3 separate regions of the Homo sapiens genome follow, and all the other regions are linked to region 1. Evidence: promoter capture Hi-C in 16 types of primary human blood cells and fetal thymus (Javierre and others, 2016). All regions are on one chromosome and are shown on one strand. The core of a region is centred on a gene start or on the middle of the fragment in contact, and the rest is flanking DNA. Distances in the headings are between cores, read along the strand shown. Region 1 holds the start of CELF3 (CUGBP Elav-like family member 3). Region 2 overlaps POGZ (pogo transposable element derived with ZNF domain). Region 3 overlaps POGZ (pogo transposable element derived with ZNF domain).

Region 1 (4,969 bases), core at 86-2,585:
ACCCCCATCCCAATATTATCTGAGGCTGCTCAGATTCTCAGTCTTGCTGCACACGCACACACACACACACCCCTACCCAGCTGCTTATCTCCCAAACCAGCTCTCTTGTCCCTCCATTCTTTCTTGAGTTCATCCCATGACATCAACACACCCATATGTCTGGGATCCACATCTTTGCAGCCGTCTTGACAACTCTTCAGCCAAAAGAGGCCCTCCTTAGTCCTTCACCGGGGTTTCCTGATCACTCTAGCTGAGTTCTTTTTCAGCTCCTCCATCCACTTTCCTCAGGCCTGAACTCTTCTCCTTCCACATCAGCCCTTCCCAGCCGCTCCACCCCTCCAGCCTGGCTTAACTTCCCCCAGCCTCCCAGCCCACCCCGAAGCCTCTTCAGCCTGCCCGACCCCTCACCCTTGTGCAGCCCGGTGTACTTGTCCTTGATGACAGTCAGCTCAAAGATCCGACCAAACTGTTCGAAGATGGGCTTCAGGTCCTTCTCCTCCAGATGCCTCGGGATCTGCCCCACAAACAGCTTGATGGCATCCGGCTCCTTCATTGAGGCGGCCCAGGAGGAGGGGCCGAGGGGAGCAGGGAGAGGCCCAAAGGCCAAGGGGAGCTGCCCAGCAAGGAGATAAGTGGTGGGGCCCGGGGGCCCAGCTGGGGCTGGCTTTCCCTTTGGCCCCCAACCACGCTGCTAAGCAGAGGGGCGGCTCTTCACACAAAGGAGGCCCAGGGAGTTGAGTGCTAGGGGTCAGGGGTCTAGGCAGACGCTGTCATGCCACCAGGGGGCATCGCCTAAACAAACGATCTCCCTCCCAGAGATCTGGCAAATGTCCCAGGATGGGGGTGAGTATGGCCAAGACCTGGAGGGTTAGGTGGTAGCCGGGGGTGCTAGGGCTTAGAGGGCTGGGAACTGGGAGTTGAGATGAGAGCTGGAGGCGGGGAAAGGGCCTGAGGAGGGTGATGGGGAGGAGACTGAGGGGTTAAGGGGCCTGCTATGGTTGCCAGCAGCGTCAGTAAGGGGGGCCCACTCCTGATGTGGGGCAGGTGAATCTCTCGTTGGCTTCCCTGGGAGGACACCTCCCCTGTGGCGGATCCTTCTGCTGGGTCCGAAGATCCCTGATGCCAGATGCTTGATCTCTGATGGCGGCAGGGCTCCAGGGGTCCCTTTTGCCCTGCCGCCCCCCTTCAGGTCCTCCCCTCAGCCCCCCTCCCACCCCCACCCCAGTCCCCGGGCCTGGGCTGCTGCCGGCTGCTCCCGCCGCTGGGGCTGCCTGCTTTCCCGGTCACCTGGGTCCCGGAGCTCTGCTCTCCGGCCGCGCTCTCCTCAACAAAAACCTCCCCCCTCCACACCCCCCTCCCCACTCCCACCTCCTTTCCCCTGACATCAGTGATGTCAGTCTCAGGGGTCGAATACAAATTCTCTACCCTGGAGAGGGACGCACAATCCAGGCACGAGCCACGCCCTCTTTCTATCTCCATCCTCCCTGACTCCCTTCCCGCCCCCAGAAGAGCAGCTGGTCCTGTTGATAATAACCCTTCCCCCATCTTACTCCCCAGTCAGGAGTTGGGCAAAGCACTAAGATGGAGAATTTATAGAGGAACCCTAAAGTGGGGTCCATTGTTCCGGGGGCTGGAGCTGTCCCCGGTGCTGGAAGACTCAGCAGATGGGGGGTGGCGGGGAAAGAGGGGAGCCCGGCATCTGGGGAGCCCCAAGAGTAGAGAGTCAAGGAAAGAAATCAGGGGAAAGAAAAATGAGAAAGGACGGTTGCATAGGCTGAAGGGAAAGGAGATATAGATGGAGAGGGAAGCAGGTCGCAGAGTCTGGGGGAAAAAGAAAAAATGCAGAGAGGAAAAATGGAAAGGGACGTGGAGAAGGAGGAGCAGGATGAGAAGAATGCAGAAAGAGAACTGTATATTTTCCAGAAAAGGAACCAAGAAAAACGATAGCTTTCTGGCATTTGCCGATGCCCCCTTCTCTCCCTCTGGGGGGTTTGTGTGTATAAGTGCGTGGGCAGGGAGGCCGCGGAGGCGGCGCCGCGGGCGCTCTCACTTGTAAGCTCCTTGAAGACCAGGACACCGTTTAATTCAGCATCTTACTGTTCACAGTGTCTAGCACCCTGTCTTGCTCATGCGTAGCAGGAGCTTAACAAACACTCCATGCAAACAACCTCTGACAACAGTGGATTCCTGATTCCTTCAGTGGGAAGAACCACAGCTGTCAAGCTTCCCCTTAGGATGCAGAAACCCAATTACTCTTTCCTTTGCTTCTTTCTTCAGTTGGGTTCTTTGAGTTGGACTCAAATTGAGCCAGGTAGCACAGAAGAGCAGGGGAGGCACATTCGGGGACCATTGCTCCCCTGACCATGGATACTTCTATGGATGATTGGCAGGCTCCACGATCTGGAGGGAGCGTGACCCCTCCATGCACTGGGCCCACTCAGAGCACGCCCTCAGTGCAGGGATTATCTGTGGACATCAAACCTTGTCAGTGGTGGTAGCCCTTGCTTTCTGTCAGTGCTCAGCAACGGGGGCTCTCCTGGGGCTCTGGGCTTTTGTAGAGCACCCTGTCTTCCTGTCATTCCCTTCTTCTCCCCCGGGGTAGGGCTGCTGTTTCCACAGAGGCACTCGTGTCTCTAAACTGTGTCCCAGCTGAGTCCCAGGGGCCTCCATTCCTGAGCTATCACGGCAGGCAGGCTTCTCTTCTGGAAGGGAAATAATAGTAACAGCCAGTGCTTACATGGCTCTTACAGTGTCCCAGGCTTTGTGCCAAGTGCTTTATATTTACTAACTCCTAAACCCTCACCACCCCCCTATGATGTAGATTTTGTCATCTCCAAATAGAGAGGAGGTAACCAAGACACAGAGCTGAAATAACTTGCCTAAAGCCATGCAGCTAGAAAGAGGTCTAGCTGAGACTGGAGCCTGGGCAGTCTGGCTCCTGAGTCCACGCATTTAACTCCCACATCAAACATTCCTCTTGAGAATGGGAGCAGTGGTGAAGTCTGGCCTTTCTTCCTCTTCTGTCTCCATTTAAGCCCTGGATGAGAGAGAGTCTTTCTTTTTACTGCTTGATTCTGTGGACCACCTCCCATCCTTCCTTAGCCTGTTTTTTTGTTGTGGCCTGGAGCCACGCTCTGGCAGGTGCTTGCATTTGAGTGAATGTGTATGTGTGTAGACTTGATTACACTTCATCACATGGATGCCCGGGTCCCCCAAGTAGGGTCCCCTAAGATGGGGTGGCAGTGGGGGGAGGTGCTAGAGGACTCAGTGGTGGGTGCTCAGAAGAAGCGAATGACGGCAGAGCCAGGGAATCAAGAAGGGCACACACATCTTGAAAGTAACTTTCCACTCACCTACCCCACCCCCACTGCTCCTTTCCTTGCCTTCTAATCTGATCTTGGTATTTATGGAGATGCTAAACAGATCATGTCCTCTGAGGATGGAGAAGGGGAAGACCCTATGGCCCTGTTGATCTCATTACTCTATGTCTTCTCAGCAGATCTGCCGCCCTGCTGCTCATTCAGGCTTGGGGCTAATCATATTAATTGAAATATTAAACATTCACAAAAATGAATTAAAATGAACTCCCCTCACTCCTCCTCCCAGTCAGTAATTGGGGAGACAGCTGCAGACAGCAAAATGCGTCCAGTCCTTTGCTTAGTTTGTGGTCCCCAAAGGTGTCAGTCTGAGAGAAGAGGCAGGGTTTAGAGGAGAAGAGTTGTACCACTCATCAGACTCTCCTTGCTGAGTGACGGTGAACACATCTCTGGTGTTCTTTCAGGCCATGGGATGGGAGTCCTGTGAGGTAAAGGCAGGGGAGCCCTGAGACTCAGATGCCTATTCTGGAAAGTTTCTCTCTAGGAGAGAGAGAGGCTTCCAGGATACTTTCTCTGCCCACCACCCCCAAGCTCACCCTCTTTTTTATTCCTCTGCAGTCAAAGCTAGGCTGCCCTACATAAAAAGATTATTGAATTTATAAAGGGAGAGCTCTGATCCTGGCTTTAGATTCTTAGGAAATGAGAAATGCTGGATAATTGGGATATTTTTCAGAAAGGGCAAAATGTGGTGGTATGTGTGGGCAGAGTGGCTAGTCATGAAGTACTTACTGGCTTCCCTGATTGAATACAGAGTGAAGACATCTGCAGCAGAATTTATGAGAGTGCACAAAGAATTGATTCTATAACCTTCCTGCCCTCAAGTGGCTTCCACCTCAAGTGGAAGGTAAGACAGGCCAACACAATACATAATAGTGAGTACTGAGACGCTGTTAAAAAAACAAAAAGTAGCCCCTCTCATACATGGGCATTTGGGTCATAGGATGTGATCAGTGAAGAAAGGCTTGATTGATTATCAAAGCACAAGAAGATCACAGATTGGCAGACGGAGGGTATCAATCATTTCCTACTTGGAGGTGGGGAGGTAGAGAACACTGTGCATGCCTGTGTGTGTTTGAGTGTGTAGGTTTGCTGGTCCAGGCTCTGGCATTGTCTAATATAATACAAGCCACATATATGGTTTAAAAATGTCTAGTAGCCATATATAAAAGCAAAAAGAAACAAGAGAAATTACTTTTAATAATAAATGTTATTTAACCTGATATATCCAAAATACTATTTCAACATGTAAATCAATTACATGTTATTAATGAGATTTTTTTCATACCAAGCCTTCAAAATCCTGTGTGTATTTTATATTTGCTGCACATTTAACACCTACAGCCACTTTTCAAGTGTTCAAGAGCCACAGGTGGCTTGTGGTGACTGTACTGGCTGGCACAGCTCTGGAGGTGCCACCACCAGCTTCTCTGGAGGGAGTATGGGGAGAAAAGACAGATCTTGGCCAAGAGGAACCATTATCTCTGGTTAACCTCTTGCTCCTGCCGGGAAAAAAAAAATCACTTCTGACAGATGGCAGCTTATCTCTCTCTCACTCTATTAACTCTCTCTCTTAAAAAAAGACAATCAACCAA
Region 2 (4,944 bases), core at 1,882-4,381, 260 kb before region 1:
AGGAAATAATCAAATGCAGAATATGGAACATTCTATAAAACTAATAGAAGTCTCTTTAAAAATGTCAATGTTCGGCTGGACGCGGTGGCTCACGCCTGTAATCCCAGCACTTTGGGAGGCCAAGGCAGGTGGATCACCTCAGATCAGGAGTTCGAGACCAGCCTGACCAATATGATGAAACCCAGTCTCTACTAAAAATACAAAAATTAGCCGGGCGTGGTGGTGGGCACCTGTAATCCCAGCTACTCAGGAGGCTGAGACAGGAGAATTGCTTGAACCCGGGAGGTGGAGGTTGCAGTGAGCCGAGATGGTGCAATTGCACTCCAGCCTGGGCAACAAGAGCAAGACTCCGTCTCAAAAAAAAAAAAAAAAAAAAAAAAAGTCAATGTTGGCCGGGCATGGTGGCAGGCCAAGGTGGTAGGATTGCTTAAGGTCAGGAGTTCAAGACCAATCTGGGAAACAGAACCGATCCCTCTAAAAAATTTTTAAACAGAAAGGATAATCATATTATATTCATGTAGGAGAATGTATTTATTCCTAGGAAATGCACAAAATATTTAATAGAAATATCTTGAAAGTGACTTTCAAGGGGTTAAGCAAATACATAGATATTTGGCTTTTTTTTTTGAGACAGGGTGTCATTCTATCCCCCAGGCTGGAGTGCAGTGGCACAATCACGGCTTATTGCAGCCTCAACCTCCTGGGCTCAGGTGATCCTCCTGCCTCAGCCTCCCAAGTAGTTGTCACTACAGGTGGGCTATTTTGATATTTTCTTATAGATACTAGTATGCCAACTTTCAAAAAATATTTGGCATGGGCCAAAACATTAAAAATCATCCTGTCACCAGGCGCAGTGGCTCACGCCTGTAATCCCAGCACTTTGGGAGGCCAATGCAGGCGGATCACAAGGACAGGAGTTCGAGACCAGCCTGGCCAACACAGTGAAACCCCGTCTCTACTAAAAATACAAAAATTAGCCATGCGTGGTGGCTGGTGCCTGCAGTCCCAGCTACTCGGAAGGCTGAGGCAGGATAATCGCTTGAATTCGGGAGGCAGAGGTTGCAGTGAGCCAAGATTGTGCCACTGCACTCTAGTCTAGGCAACAGAGCGAGACTCTGTCTTAAAAAAAAAAAGTCACTCTGTCTAGGTGGTGGATAGTTTAAGTGTTCCTTGTAGAATTCTTTCACCCTTTTCTTTTTTCTTCTTTTTGTGATGGAGTCTCGCTCAGTTGCCCAGGCTGGAGTGATCTTGGCTCACTGCAACCTCCACCTCCCAGGTTCAAGTGATTTTCCTGCCTCAGCCTCCTGAGTAGCTGGGATTACATGCATGCGCCACAACGCCCAGCTAATTTTTGTATTTTTAGTAGAGACAGGTTTCACCATGTTGGTCAGGCTGGTCTTGAACTCCTGACCTTGTGATCCGCCCATCTTGGCCTCCCAAAGTGCTTCGGTTACAGGTGTGAGCCACTGCGCCCAGCCTCTTTCTCCCTTTTCGCATGCGTGAAATTTTCTTAATAAAAACTGAGGTGGGGTAGGAGGGAGTGGAACTACCTACTCATATCTTAGCTGTGATATTCTGTACTGCTACATTCCACCTATCTCTTTGGTATTTACTAAATAACTGGTAGCCTTGTTGGTTGAATTTCTTGATTTATTCCCAGGACCAATTTTCATGTAGCTTGTATATATACATTTCTCTTTTTTTATTTTTATGCATCCATTTTCACTTAATATACATTTCTTAAGACATAGCAAAATAGTTAAATAAGAAATAACAAATTAAGGTGGATTATGTAGGCTACCAAGGAGGTACATTACTTTCTTCCATTAATCCATTATTTGACATCTTGGTAACCTAGGTGGTTTCTCTATTTTGTAGTAATTGTAACATGATTTTTTTGTGCACTCAATAGGTTTTACTTAACACTGCAGGCTCACACAGAACTATTAGCAATACTCAGTCTCTTGTCTCATCCTTCAATCCATAATATGGGAGTACCAGATAAATACTCTCCTGGAGGGAAGGGGACTATTTCTTAAATGCTGGCGAATATGGTAGTCTATACTAAGGCCCTATATGATCAGCTAGTCAATAAAAGTCTATATAATTGTAAAGGCAAGATAAAAACAGACCTTTTAAAACAATATACTATTTAAAAGCAGCAAAAAGAATCCTGCAGATACACCTGTATACTTTTAAGGTATTTAATGGGCAGCAAATGTTGCCTATCTTCATCTCAAAGAAAATGAGAAAAAGATCTGTTTTCCACAACTATCCTGACATACTTGGTTCTTGAAAGCTCTGAATTCCTTTGTCTTGTTCTTTCATAGCTGTAAAGTCCAGAAATGAAGAATGAAGAATTCAGAAATGAAGAATTTGGTATCTAACGTTTTCAACTTACTGCCAGTACATACCTGCCCAAAAATCAACATAAAAAGAACATTTGGAACAGGAAAAATATTTTACAGAAAACAAACATTTTAAGAATACCACTTTCTTGTTCCAGGGTGAAAAATAAACAATGATAATCCTCAACATAACTGGTAATTATGTTTTCAAGTTACCTCAATTTTTGGCTCTAAAAAGGACTAATACCAGAAAACCTATAGGGCTGAATACTTAATCTGTGTATAAAACTATAGTTAAACATGTAATAAGCTTTTATTTATCCAGTCTTTTGCACAGCCCATTTTGTCCCTCACAACATCTGTTATAGTACCTCATATGTAAGAATCATAAGGGTTTTAAGTAGTCTTAATAACCTAAAATTTCCAAACTCAAAATACTTTCCTCTTGTCTGGTAGCCAATCCTGTATCAAGAAACACCCAAATATTTAGTTCTGTGCTCTTTACTAAAACAAGTAAGCAACAAGTTCTCTTCTTTAAAGGGGTTCAATATTCAGGAGTCCCTTTCCCAAGAAAAATATCTATACTATGATGGAAAACTTTTCTTCAATGACAGCTGTGTGTTGCCTAAATTCCATTTCTATGCTTTCAATTTCTTTTAACTCTGCTAACACCTAGCAATAGGTTAGTGTCTCTTTTCTGCTCTCCTCCCCTTGGTTACATATAAAAATACGTTTTTCAGTTGGGCGTGGTGGCTCACGCCTGTAATCCCAGCACTTTGGGAGGCCAAGGCGGGTCGATCAAGAGGTCAGGAGTTTGAGACCAGCCTGATCAATATGGTGAAACCCCATCTCTAGAAAAATACAAAAATTACCCAGGTGTGGTGGCGCGTGCCTGTAATCCCAGCTACTGAGGAAGCTGAAGGAGGAGAATCGCTTGAACCCAGGAGGCGGAGGGTGCAGTGAGCCGAGATTGCGCCATTACGCTCCAGCCTGGGCAATAGAGCGAGACTCCATCTCAAAAAAAAAAAAAAGACAAGTTTTTGTGAATATGGCTTAATATCACAAACAAGAATACCAAAGAATCTATCAAAATGTTACCATATTGATATTATGGCAAAGGCATTAACCAGCTCTAGGATTTGTAATCAACCAGCTCTAAAGTTTTTATTTTACAGATAAGGTCAAAACAGTGGTTTAGAGAGACGAAGTAACTTCCTCAAGGTTACAGTTAGTAAATATCCCAGTTAGGATTCAAAGCAAGCTTTTTTTGCTTTAGAATTCTTCCCCAGGTCACTGCCTCTTCCATCAACTTCAACTATTTATAAATTCTCCCAAGTTCCCCAAGGGAGTTAGATTTGAATGATGTAAAGAGCAGAAACATAGGACTGACTGAATGATTCTCATTTTTTTGACTCTTAAAATTATTGAAGACGCCAAAGATCTTTTGTTTATGTGAATTTTATCTTTCCACATTTACCACAAATTTTTAAAATGTAGTATTTATCAATGTATTTTAAGACAAGCCCATTATAAGTTAACATAAATAACATTTCAACAAAAAATACTTTCCCTCCAAAAAGTGAGAAAAGTAACGTTGTTTTGCATTTTGCAAATCTCTTTTATGTCTAACTTGATAAAAGATGGTTGGATTCTCACAGTTACTTCTGCATTCAGTCTGTTGCTATATGTAGCTTTGGTTAAGTATATAATGAAAATCTAGTCGGAAAAGGGAGAAGTATTTTAATAACCTTTTCAGATAACTGTGTTTGGTAAATACTAAAACTCAACAAACGGTAGTTTCTTTCTTTTTTTTTTTTTTTTTTTTTTTTAATAAATAGAGACAGGGTCTCACTATGCTGACCAGGCTCAACTCCAACTCCTGGGCTCACACAATCCTTCCACCTTGGCCTCCCAAAGTGCTGGGATTACAGGAGTGAGCCACCACGCTAGGCCAAATAGTAGTTTCTTAAAGGACAGTTAACATTTTGGAATCTGAAACCACATCAATCCACTTTTTTACTGTTAAAATCCATTGCTATGTCTGGAATTTTCAAAGGATCTTTTGCCTTTGCTTGATTTTGCAACATCATGCATTGGTCATTTGCAAAGCCTAGATTTACTGAGTTATGCCCATCTTCCAAATAACATATTTCATTAAACAACATTTTAAAATATTGCAGTCCTTAACCACTGATATCATAAGGAAAGTCTTTTAAGTACTAGGAAGCTGTCAAACTCCAGCTGTCAACTTTTTAAAAATTCTAATTTTCACCCAAATTTTATCACTGGTAATAAATACTGTCAGTTGTTTTCCTAAAAGTGACAAGCTCACTTCATTTTCAAGAAATATCTGCCAAATACTAAGTGTGAAAAACCATAGTCTGCTAGTCGTTCTTTCAAGTAAAAATGCTACTCCATGAAATAAGCCATTCATTCACAACCCAATCTCACAAATGCTTTTCCTTCATGACAACAATCACACCTCCCTAGGCAGCATAAATGCTTTATCCATGTTTATTTAATCACAAATTCTTAAAAATTAAAAAGACATGTAGTCAAAAGCTAAGACTTAATAATAATAGGCCGGGCACGGTGG
Region 3 (4,668 bases), core at 2,151-4,650, 280 kb before region 1:
CATCTCAGGTTTAATGTGACCAAACTCACCAAAAATTTAAGTTTCACCCAAATCTACAACTAACAGAAAAACAGATGGGTAGGGGAGGTTCACTAACACTTCACCCATATGTCTTCACTGGGGATGAAAGACACATTAGAATTCTATGTGGCTAGCACCCTGACTCTCATGATTTAAGTGACCACACATAATCTCCCCCACCAAATCAGCAGAACAAAATATGTTAAGTCTTTTTCCATATTTTAACTAGGTAAAACCTATTTTATTAGAAGATAATTTGTTAGCTAATCCCCCTTAATTTTTTAAAAAGAATATTCATCAACAAACATTAATTCAGCAAGCACACAGAATCTAAGGAATGGTTTCTCTTCCTAGTGAGTTAAATCTGAGAAATGCAAGATTCTTTAAGCAACCACTGGGAACCCAGAGACTGACAGGCTACCTACCGTAGCCCTCTCTTTATGTCATCAGGGGTGATAATCAGAAGACCTGGACAAAAACTAACCCACACCAAGTAAAAATGACATGATTTCAGAAGATAATGATTCATTCATGAATAAATATTAATAAACTGGGCTATTATTGAAATATCTTAAATTCTTTTCATTTGTGAAAAATTTTATAAATATTTTTAAGTCCCCTATTTCATGACATTTGGTGAAAAAACCAATACTAAGTTTCCTGATTTACAAAGTATACTCAAAACCAGATAGAAAATTTCAGAGAGCCAATATACCTAAGCCAAAGAGTCAAGCAGGCCAGGCATGGTGGCTCACACCTCTAATCCCAGTACTTTGGGAGGCCAAGGCAGGCACATCACTTGAGGCCAGGAGCTCAAGACCAGCCTGGCCAACACAGCAAAACGCTGTCTCCACTAAAAATACAACAATTAGCCAGGCATGGTGGCGCATCCCTGTAATTCCAGCTACTTGGGAAGCTGAGGCAGGAGAATTGCTTGAACCAGGGAGGCGGAGGTTGCAGTGAGCCAACATTGTGCCACTGCACTCCAGCCTGGGCGACAGAGCAAGGCTCTGTCTCAAAACAACAACAACAGCAACAACAACAAGAAACAAAAAACCAAAGAGTCAAGCAAAATATGGCCTCAACTTTTTACCCAAAATCACCAGAATGGGATGGGCCCCTCTGAAATGTATGTTCCACTTGGCAGGTTATATCACCACAGTTAACTACAAAGCTAGACCACCAAAGGAATAGGTATGTAGGTGGCTACTAATGGGCCAGCAGTGGCTTATCTTATACTCTCTCAGAAACTGAGAGCTCATCAGTAGACTAGACCCTCAGTTACTGAGCCAGAAGACCAGTGATTGTAGAGGCAGATAGATAAATAAAACAGAAAATTCCAGCAAGTTCTATCCATGTTAAACTATACTGGCAATTTATCTATGGTGGGTTTTTTAAATTTTTAAATGTTTTATTATGGAGAAGTTAAAACATACATAAAAAGGGAACGCTATAGTGAACCCCTATGCAACCACCACCCTGCTTCAATAATTATCAATGTATGGCAAGTCTTATTTCATCTATACCTTCTACATACTTACTAGTTCCCATATCACTTTAAAGCAAGTTCTAGATCATATCATCTATAAGTATTTCAAAATATACCTTCTACATAAGAACTTCAAAAAAAGATAAAAGAATCATACCAACATAACTCCTGAACATTATAATAATTATTCAATATCAAATACCCAGTCAAAATTCAAATTTACTTGTATTTTTTAAGTAATTTGTCTGAATCCAGTTACAAAATGTTTGCAAAGTGCAACTGATGAACTAACTCTTTTAATCTATAGGTTCCCCAACCATCTCTTTCTATCCTTTTGAAATTTATGGTTGAAAAATATTGACTAAGCAAAAGTCTATATTTTTTAGTCATTATTTTAACTGCTAGGACAAAAGAAAATAAATTATCTCTTATTTATCCTAATTCTAAAAATTCTTAAGATAATTACTAGCTCAACATCCCAATTAAATACAAGAAGGGAAAGATGGAGGCTTTTTGCATTTATGGGAAATCAGTCAGCATTAGCAAGTCTCTTAAAGACAGACCAGGTTTCCATGAAACCCGTAAATACCATTATAAAGAATTTTAACAGCATTTTCTGCAAATATTTTCTCTTATATCAGGGTCAAGTTTAAATTTTGGTGGATTGTTAGAATTTTTCCAAAAAGGCTGGGCAAGGTGGCTCATGCCTGTAATCCCAGCATTTTGGGAGGCTGAGGTGGGTGGATCACCTGAAGTCAGGAGTTTGAGACCAGCCTGACCAACACGGAGAAATCCCGTCTCTACTAAAAATAACAAAACTAGCCAGGCGTAGTGGCGCATGCCTGTAATCCCAGCTACTCGGGAGGCTGAGGCAAGAGTATTGCTTGAACCCAGGAGGCAGAGGTTGCATTGAGCCGAGATCGCGCCACTGCACTCCAGTCTGAGCAATAAGCGAAATTCCGTCTCAAAAAAAAAAAAAAAAAAAAAAGAATTTTCCCAAAAATATGGTACAATCAAAAAGTGGTTTTCTAAGACCAGATTAGATTCACAATGCAATGGAAAGCAAAAGCCAGACTATGGAAAGTCATACTAGGTAAATTATACTTACTTATTTAGAAGCATTTTAATGATTTCTGCAATCTTTGCTCAAAGGAATTCTGACAATTCAAGTGTCTTACAAGGTTCTATTTCCAGAGGATGAAACAGGCAATCACAATTCTGGTGCTTTAAAAAAAAAGCCTTTAAAAGGATTATCCAAACTAGGGCAGTGGTATGCACCCGTAGTCCCAGCTATTTGAGAGGCTGAAGCAGGTGGATCACTTGAGCCTAGGAGTTCGAGTCCAGCCTGGACAACACAGTGAGACCCCCATCTCAAAAACAAAACAAGGCCAGGCGTGGTGGCTTACGCCTATAATGTCAGCACTTTGGGAGGCCGAGGCAGGCAGATCACTTGAGGTCAAGAGTTTGAGACCAGCCTGGCCATCATGGTGAAACCCCCATCTCTACTAAAAATACAAAAGTTAGCTGGGCATGGTGGCATATACCTGTAATCCCAGCTACCTGAGTGACTGAGGCATGACAATTGCTTGAACCCAGGTGGGGTCTTCAGTGAGCCAAGATTGTGCCACTGCACTCCAGTCTGGGCAACAGTGTGAGTCTCAGTCTCAAAAATAAAAAATGAAAAATAGCTAGGCATGGTGGTGTGTGCCTGTAGTCCCAGCTACTTGGGGGGCCGAGGTGGGAGGATCGTTTGAGCCTGGGAGGTGGAGGGTGCAGTGAGCCAGCTGTGTTCGTGCCACTACTGCACTCCAGCCTGGGTGACAAAGTGAGACCCCATCTTGAACAAAACAAAGAAAACCTAAGAAACAAATGAAATAAAACAATCCACCTCAGTGACAATTAATTCCATGAGTTTTCTTCTATACTTCAGACATCACATGGTATCAAGCACATTATTTTTTGAGACAGAGTCTTGCTCTGTCACCAGGGTGGAGTGCAATGGTGCAATCTTGGCTCACTGCAACCTCTGCCTCCTGGGTTCAAGTGATTCCCCTGCCTCAGCCTCCCAAGTAGCTGGGACTACAGGCACATGCCACCATGCCCAGCTCATTTTTTTGTATTTTAGTAGAGACGGGGTTTTACCATGTTGGCCAGGATGGTCTTGATCTCCTGACCTTGTGATCTGCCCACCTTGCACATAAATCAAAGAATTATGCAACTAACTTTCTCCCTCTAAGTTTGCTCTCTCTTGATTTTTTTCCTTCATTCTTTCTTTTTTTTTTTCACAAGGAGTTTTGCTCTGTCACCCAGGCTGGAATGGCATGACCTCAGCTCACTGCAACCTCTGCCTCCTAGGTTCAAGTGGTTCTTCTGCTCAGCCTCCCAAGTAGCTAGGAATACAGATGCCCACCACCATGCCCAGCTAATTTTTGTAGTTTTTAACAGAGACAGGGTTTCACTATTTGGCCATGCTAGTCTCAAACTTCTGACCTCAGGCGATCTGCCCGCCTCAAGCCTCCCAAAGTGCTAGGATTATAGGCGTGAGCCACTGCGCCCAGCCTTCCTTCATTCTTTTAAGTTTACTTCCATACCCTTAAAGCCCAGAAATAGAGGGCTAAATACAATAGGAACTGAAAACCATAATTAGTTATACTGTAAGAAATTTATAACATTAAATTCACATCATTCACAGCTCAGAATTAAGCAATAGTTTATTTCACCTCATAATGTTTCTTTCCTGTGCAAACATAAGATGAGTCAGAACTACAGGAATAATTTTAAAATACTGAGTAGTAAATTCTAAAGAACATCAAACAGAATAGTAAAAATATTCCAAAATTTTATTCCTGATACTTTCCTTTTTTTTTTTTGAGATGGAGTCTTGCTCTGTAGCCCAAGTTGGAGTGCAGTAACGTGATCTCAGCTCACTGCAACCTCCACCTCTCAGGTTCAAGCGATTCTCCTGCCTCAGCCTCCCAAGTAGCTGGGACTACAGGTAAATGCCACCACACTCGCCTAATTTTTTTGTATTTTTAGTAGAGATGGGGTTTCACCATGTTGGTCAGGCTGGTCTTGAACTCCTGACCTCAAATGTTCTGCTCACCTCGGCCTCCCAAAGTGCTGGGATTACAGGTGTAAGCCACACACCTGGCCTTGAT

Evidence for each region. Contacts are between HindIII fragments. The CHiCAGO score rates a contact against its expected background, and 5 or more counts as called.
Region 2: a contact is called between a fragment that was not itself captured here and the fragment with the promoter of CELF3 in region 1, in 16 of 17 cell types (M2 macrophages, M1 macrophages, M0 macrophages and 13 more). The highest score is 20.3, in M2 macrophages.
Region 3: a contact is called between a fragment that was not itself captured here and the fragment with the promoter of CELF3 in region 1, in 9 of 17 cell types (M0 macrophages, M2 macrophages, M1 macrophages and 6 more). The highest score is 11.0, in M0 macrophages.

Annotation. Positions count from the first base shown.
Region 1 is chr1:151,715,468-151,720,436 of GRCh38, forward strand. It overlaps CELF3 (CUGBP Elav-like family member 3), which reads right to left and starts at 1,336. Exons shown (of 13, transcript NM_007185.7): 1 at 409-1,336. The coding sequence starts at 553. It also overlaps a transcript of RIIAD1 not described here. RefSeq lists an enhancer at 1,266-1,560. The HindIII fragment of the contact is 2,919 bases long and covers 1-2,221 here.
Region 2 is chr1:151,451,742-151,456,685 of GRCh38, forward strand. The region is part of intron 1 of POGZ (pogo transposable element derived with ZNF domain); the gene reads right to left. Among named protein-coding and RNA genes, the nearest start is that of POGZ, 5.3 kb to the right of the region's middle. The HindIII fragment of the contact is 951 bases long and covers 2,657-3,607 here.
Region 3 is chr1:151,431,131-151,435,798 of GRCh38, forward strand. All of the region lies in intron 3 of POGZ (pogo transposable element derived with ZNF domain), which reads right to left. Among named protein-coding and RNA genes, the nearest start is that of POGZ, 26 kb to the right of the region's middle. The HindIII fragment of the contact is 9,229 bases long and covers 1-4,668 here.